Linked DNA regions of Homo sapiens: region 1 is linked to region 2. The links are contacts of gene promoters, found by promoter capture Hi-C in human tissues and cell types (Jung and others, 2019). All regions are on one chromosome and are shown on one strand. The core of a region is centred on a gene start or on the middle of the fragment in contact, and the rest is flanking DNA. Distances in the headings are between cores, read along the strand shown. Region 1 overlaps HECTD2 (HECT domain E3 ubiquitin protein ligase 2). Region 2 holds the start of FGFBP3 (fibroblast growth factor binding protein 3).

The links. Contacts are between HindIII fragments. The study calls those that stand out against the background at their distance.
Region 1: a contact is called between a fragment that was not itself captured here and the fragment with the promoter of FGFBP3 in region 2, in 1 of the 25 tissues and cell types used here (aorta).

What each region holds. Positions count from the first base shown.
Region 1 is chr10:91,497,880-91,501,407 of GRCh38, reverse strand. HECTD2 (HECT domain E3 ubiquitin protein ligase 2) reads right to left here. Exons shown (of 21, transcript NM_182765.6): 16 at 3,226-3,300; 17 at 2,449-2,536; 18 at 2,258-2,364; 19 at 791-906; 20 at 74-217. The region is part of intron 3 of HECTD2-AS1 (HECTD2 antisense RNA 1); the gene reads left to right. Among named protein-coding and RNA genes, the nearest start is that of HECTD2, 89 kb to the right of the region's middle. The HindIII fragment of the contact is 4,262 bases long and covers 1-3,528 here.
Region 2 is chr10:91,907,373-91,910,918 of GRCh38, reverse strand. FGFBP3 (fibroblast growth factor binding protein 3) reads left to right here and starts at 1,433. Exons shown (of 2, transcript NM_152429.5): 1 at 1,433-1,521; 2 at 1,872-3,546. The coding sequence starts at 1,950. The coding sequence ends at 2,726. It overlaps FGFBP3-AS1 (FGFBP3 antisense RNA 1), which reads right to left and starts at 2,790. Exons shown (of 2, transcript NR_199602.1): 1 at 2,670-2,790; 2 at 1,571-2,022. RefSeq lists an enhancer at 1,793-2,087 and a silencer at 1,991-2,560. The HindIII fragment of the contact is 15,807 bases long and covers 1-3,546 here.

The sequences.
Region 1 (3,528 bases), core at 158-2,657, 410 kb after region 2:
TCCAAATGTATTATCATTAGCAGTATTAGCAGTAACCTTTAGATTTAAAATAAAATTAGATCCAGAAATTTACCAGTTAGTAGAAGTTTCATTCTTTGAGATTTTAAAGTTCAAATCAGCCATCCCTCCTACAGGTACTCTGTCACTCCCTGTAGTAAAATGTAGCAACTTCTTTTGAAGATCAAGAGGAAATCCAAGCACAACATCCCAAAAGTATCTAGAGAATACCAAAGGAAATTAACATCAAATGTCTTGACAAAAATCCTATAATAAAGTAATATAAAGGAAGCTCTAAGGAAAGGACTTTCCTTAAGCATACATAATATCCTGAATTTCTGTAAAATTAAGGAATGGTGAGCTTCTATATACGTATTAGACTTTTGACTAACATTATAAAATAATATTTTTATAAAAGTATATAAGTTCAGCAGTGGATAGTACAGGAACCATTTTTCTCCTGCATAACTTTCAAGTCTTATTTTTCAACATAGTGCTATTAAACTGTTATTTACAAGGATAGCATCCATGAAATTCTAGGAGCAAAGTCATTTTTTTAAAAGTAAAATCTCTACACTTTTGTAGAAACTTGCTTATAGAATTTTCTCCCAAAGGGAGTGATTTCATATTAAAATTCTCATAGACTTTCCAGAGATAAAATAAGACTGTGGGACTCTCTAATATTTTGACTAACTTAATTGATTCAAAGATTGTAAGTTATGCAAATAAATGAACCACACTGTCTGCTGTTCCCTCTCCACATCCCCCACTATCAGAAGTATAAAGAGCTCACTTTATAGTTAAGTCCGTTTTTGCATAGCCATCATACTGAGTACTTCTCTGCAGAGCATGCATATCCAGGTCAGGACTTCCACAGACCAAAATTTCAACCTCTTCTGGACGAAGCAGCTGCCAATAATTATTTATCAAAAACAATAATTAAAGAGTGATGGTTTTAAGTGAAACTGGAACTATTTTCACTGGATCAAATCACAAAAGTCATGATTTCTCATAGTAAATCAAACCATTTTTGTTGAAGAAAAATCGACTCTGGGTATATTTTTCCTGCCAAGGCAAGATATTTTTGCTTCCGAAGTTTATAGATCTTGTAAATAGTAATTAGCCGTTTGCCAGAAAAACAAGCAAATTACTTTGCACAAATCCAAATTACTCTTCTCCAAAAACCAGCATGAAGCTCCAACATCTACTGATCCACCTAATATCCCGTATCCTAGTATCTCCTTCCAATATCCCATAACACCTCCTGTGTGCACTGTAGAGTTTGGGCACTTGGTTATAGTCTGTCTTGTGTCTCTTGTTTTTTTCAACTTTCAGGTGGGTTAGTCTACCGCCTACAGAGATTAAAGCTCTAAAACACAGAGACCATGCTATGCTATTTAATTCTTATTTTCCCTCTGTCCACTCCCACAATTACCAGAGTGTCATAAACAAAACTTAACTAGAGCTCAATAAAGTGTTTCTCTTTCAAAGGTATTTTCGACAACAAACATATTACAAAGGTTTCTCTAAAACAAGCTGGCAATAATGTAAGCCACTTGGTTTTGCCCCAAAGCAACTTCTATAGTCCATTTCTCTCTCCCATGAAAAATAATTCAAATGAAAGATCTTACTCCAATCCCTCATAATGAAACTAAGGGAGGTATAAATGGCATGATGAAAGTGTGTGCTGGGTAGCTGGGGTGACTGAAAGGTATCCTATGATACTTCTGACATGGTATTCTAAATAGTAGCTGATCCATATTCACATGGCTAAGACAAGTCAGACCAAACTGAGTCCACCATAACTCTAGAGATAAACTACTTGCTAAGGGTAAAAGGCAATGCAGAGTTGCTGAGGGAGCCCTGAGGTAGCAGGAAGCAGCTATACATATGTTCCTTAATCATTAAGAAGTTGTAACTTTTACCCTGGAGCTACATGTTAACTGCGTTGTGTGCCTTGTCCTTCAGTATTAAGATCCTGAGTCCATGGATCCCTTCATCCACTCTACTTGGAGAAAGTTTGTAAAGCTCTAAAAGACTTAGTAGAAGGGGAGAGAAAATGAACTGACTGGGGTGTTTTTCCCCTCTAAAGAATTAAGACTGAAATGAGAGAACTATTTTTGTTTTTAGTTCTACTTTTAAAAAGTAGAAAATATTTTCTATTTTAAAAGCTTATCTACTAAAATATTTATTAATTATTTGTTAACATGATAGTACTACAAAAGCTAACCGAAAGCTTGATTTAAAGTTATAAACTCACCATTAGGGCATTTGAAGCACACACACTATGAAATCCATAATAAAATGCAGCAAACTGCTTATAGATGGATTTGTTCAGAAGGAAGTCAGTATAAAGCTGTACATATTCTGAAAAGCAATTTTACATCTCTTAAATAGTAAAAGTAAATGGCAAATACTAATTCATTTTAATTAAAAAGGGTATTAACTTACCTTTTCTATTTTGATTGGTAACTGAAATTTTATCACCACCGGGCTTTAAATTATAGGACTTGATTATTCCAAATTCTTCTTGAAAAACCTGATGGGAGATGCCATTACACATATTAATATGGTTGATATAATAACATACTTTGGTGAACAGGTTTGTAAAATTTAAAAAACAGTTTTTTTCCCCCTTCCTTCTAAACACATAAACTATAAAAGGCTAAGCTCTTGCAATATTTGTATTAAGAACGAGGGATCATAAAAGAATTATGGAGTTAAAAAATAGTGCCTTAACTTAACCCTGCCTAATACAGTTAAATACTTTAATGAAGTCCACAAAACTGTGTGGACATCTAGATAATACACAGCGGGTCCCTGGAGCTCTGCAGATCACTGTAATGTCCATTTCCCAAATACTGTAAAAGGAGTGGAAATCAGAGAGTTTTGGTCTGACTCATTAGTTTCTACTCCTAGCTTCTAATGTTGAAGTTACAGGAGAGGCTTATTTTTAGAAACTAAAAAGCTCTGAGAAAGTAACCAACTCAAGGGGATATGTAATTGCCTAGAGAGTACTCTGAACCCTTAGTGAATTTCATTAAGCACTTTCATTGACTGCTCATCTACACATGTCTACTTTATCAGGTTAAGGTCCTTTAAGACAGAGGATTGTATGTATTGGTTAATCCTTGTTCATCTTTTCTAACAGTGGGTATTTAATAACAAATTGCACTGTTCATATATGAAATATATGATTAACAGATAACTACTTGCCCTTAATAGTACCTGAAATGTTGAATAGAAATCTTCTTCAACATTGCCTTCATGTGATAAGAGTTCACTTAATCCATGGGCCAACTCCTATAAAAAGAAATCTGTTAATGATTTTTTCAATAGAATAGCATTAGCTAGGATAATGAAGTGGCTTTTCTATAGCTCATGCATATGTATATAAAGATCATATTTGACATGTATTTTCCAGGGCACAAAATGGTTAATGATTTCTACCATCCAGAGGCTAAGAAAAAAATCATTATAGGTCATAGATGGGGAAACTATCCAGTTCAAACTACAGGGGCATAACTCTGG
Region 2 (3,546 bases), core at 184-2,683:
TAGCACACTGTCAAATTCTTTTCCTTAAGGTGCACAGTAAATGTACAGATAGTTATAGGCCACTGTTTTTGCAATGTAGTACATTTCTAATCTATTATTCCTAACCTATTATAACTGTTTGCAGAGAGAAAATAATTGAATTTTTCTAATAATCTGTAAAATTATGCTAACTTCTACAAGTAGGCTTCTAAATAAAAATTTTAAAAAGAGCAAAAAAAAAAAAAAAGAAAGAAAAAACAGCTTTGCTTGGTCAGCACTTTGAGAGGCTGAGGCAGGTGGCTCATCTCAGGTCAGGAGTTCGATACCAGACTGGGCAACATGGTGAAACCCCTTCTCCACTAAAAATTAGCTGGGTGTTGTGGCAGGCACCTGTAATTCCAGCTACTGGGGAGGCTGAGGCAGGTGAATCGCTTGAACCGGGAAGGCAGAGGTTGCAGTGAGCCGAGATAGCACCACTGCGCTCCAGCCTGGGTGACAGAGTGAGCTCCCGTCTCAAAACAAACAAACAAACAAACAAACAAACAAACCCCCGCACACACACACAATCCCCCCCTCCAGAAAAAGCAGCTTTGCTTAAATGTAACATTTTCAAGATTCAAGAACACATTCATTCTCTCTCTCTTTTTTTTTTTTTTTGAGAGGCAGTCTCGCCCTGTCCCGGGTTCAAGTGATTCTCCTGCCTCAGCCTCCTGAGTAGCTGGGATTACAGGCATCTGCCACCACGCCTGGCTAATTTTTGTATTTTTAGTAGAGACGGGATTTCACCAGGCCAGGCTGGTCTCACATTCTTAACTATTATACCATTTCAATTGGTAATCTTACCGTTCAACTACTATAATACAAATAATTTTTTTAAACTTCTAATTTTTGGAGGACCCTTATAACTGATTTCTAATACCTAAAAATAATAAAAAGCCCAAATGTCCACTCCTGGGTGAACTGCTGGGCACTATTGTATGTTAATAAACTAGGATATTATATTTTTATTAGTAGTAACAATTATTAAGATTGAGAGTCTTAAGAAAGGCTATTGGAAATAATAGGTAAAAATGTAGAACTCAGAATATGAGAAATAGAATGTAAATGATATAATTGTGTAAAAAATGCCTAGTTTAGAATACTGAAGTTTGTTTTGTTTCATTTTATTTAACTTTTAAAACTTAGATCTTTTGTTTAATTTTTATTTTTTGGATGGTTAAGTACATGAAAGAAGAAAAACTTGGTTAATTTTGCCTGATTATTTTAAACATTGGAAGCAAAATACAAGATTTGTATTTCATACTACAGGACCGCTTCCATCATCCATCTGGAGAGACAGAGAGAGAGAGGGAGAGAGAGAGAGAAGCGCGGCGGTGATAAGTCTCCCAGTGTGAGAGAAATCGGGGAGGGGCGAAGAAGGGTAGGCCTCTTCTGTTCCATTGATACCACGTTCATTCACAGGGAGCCGGCTAAAACAGACTACTCCCCCGTGCAGTCGTTCCCTCTACCCTAATAAGGCTTTGGCGCCTCTCCCAGAACTCGGTAAGTTCAAAGTGTAGTAAAGTGCATGTTTCCAAGGAATCATCTGAAATGATTTTGTAGATAGTTTATTGCAGGTTGGAGAAGGGAGAAAATGAAGGAAGGGGTAGAGGGGGCAATTATCACGCATCGTTTTGCTATCGTATTTGCAAGGGGAAGAAAATCTCAATGCATACATGGTTCGAAAGTGATTATTTAGACAGTAAGCAGTTTCCCCAGGAAAGCTCCTCAGAGGGTCTCCTCGCAGGCTGCAGATTCTAGAAAGTCTGCGGAAGAGTAGTTCGCAGGTGCATGTGTCTGGGCGAAGCGCTGCGTGTGGCTCAGTTGGTGGCAGTCTCTGCCTCTGTCCGCAGGTCCTGGGGAATGCTCTTTGCCTGGTCCAGCCCCGACAAACGTGGTCTGAGAACAGCGGAGCGCGGAAACCGCGGAGCATGACTCCTCCGAAGCTGCGAGCGTCGCTGTCGCCGTCGCTGCTGCTGCTGCTGAGTGGTTGCCTCCTCGCGGCTGCTCGGAGGGAGAAAGGGGCGGCTAGCAACGTGGCGGAGCCGGTCCCCGGGCCCACTGGCGGCTCCTCGGGTCGCTTCCTCAGCCCCGAGCAGCACGCGTGCAGCTGGCAGCTCCTGCTGCCCGCCCCGGAGGCCGCAGCGGGCAGCGAGCTGGCGCTGCGCTGCCAGAGCCCGGACGGGGCGCGCCACCAGTGCGCCTACCGCGGGCATCCGGAGCGCTGCGCAGCCTACGCCGCTCGCCGCGCGCACTTCTGGAAGCAGGTGCTGGGAGGGCTGCGCAAGAAGCGGAGGCCCTGTCACGACCCCGCGCCGCTCCAGGCCCGCTTGTGCGCGGGCAAGAAGGGCCACGGCGCCGAGCTGCGGCTAGTGCCCCGCGCGTCCCCGCCCGCACGCCCCACCGTCGCGGGATTCGCGGGGGAGTCCAAGCCCCGGGCCCGGAACCGGGGGCGGACCCGGGAGCGTGCGTCCGGCCCAGCCGCTGGGACCCCGCCTCCCCAAAGCGCACCGCCCAAAGAAAACCCCTCAGAGAGGAAGACCAACGAGGGCAAGAGGAAGGCGGCCTTGGTCCCCAACGAGGAGCGACCCATGGGGACCGGGCCCGACCCCGACGGGCTGGACGGGAACGCGGAGCTCACGGAGACCTACTGCGCTGAGAAGTGGCACTCCCTCTGCAACTTCTTTGTCAATTTCTGGAACGGCTGAGACTGCCTGCCGGCTTAGGGAGGGTTGATGGGGGAGGCGTGGGGAAGGGAAAGCTAAGGGCGTCTTAGACCGGGGGGTACTGTGATAGAGATTGGGGAGAAGTCCAGGTTCTCGAATGGGGGTGGGGGCAAGGGTAAGGGTGAGATGCTTGGGATGAGAGTGTAAGGGGTATGGAGAATCTCTGGGATAGCAGAGAAGTTAAAAATTTTGAAAAGTCTCAGTCCTGATTAAGAGCAGGAAAAATAATGGAAACAGAAATAGGCGTACTTTAAATGTGCAAAAACTGGAGACTGGGGAGAGAAATCGATGCAGAGGGAGGCTGAGAATAAGGGGGAGATAGAGTGACTAAAGTGATGTGAGTCCCATGTGGGGAGGGGGATGCAATGTTTATTGTTTAACATTTCTATTAAATGCAGCCATGAGCAATTGCCAACCTGAGCCAGGTTGAATCAATGTCTTCTCACTTAATCAGCTAACAAGACTGCAGACTTTTTTTCCGTTTCTGAATTGGTATAAACTTGGATGCGGCGTGGTGGGTGTCATAGATAACCTCTATAGGGACAGAAGCCTCACAGGTCAAAACTGGCTCCAAGGAAAGTTTTGCAGAATGATTTCCTTTCCATTCTTTTAGAAGAGCTACCTTTTTTTTTTTTTTTCCCTGACAGGGTCTGGCTTGCCCAGGCTGGAGTGCGGTGGCTAGTCACAGGTGTAATAATAGGCACTGCAGTCTCCAACTCCTGGCCTCAAGGGATCCTCACATCTTAGCCTCCAGAATAGCTAGGAGTAGGAGTAGCTGGGACTACAAGCATGCACAGCTGCA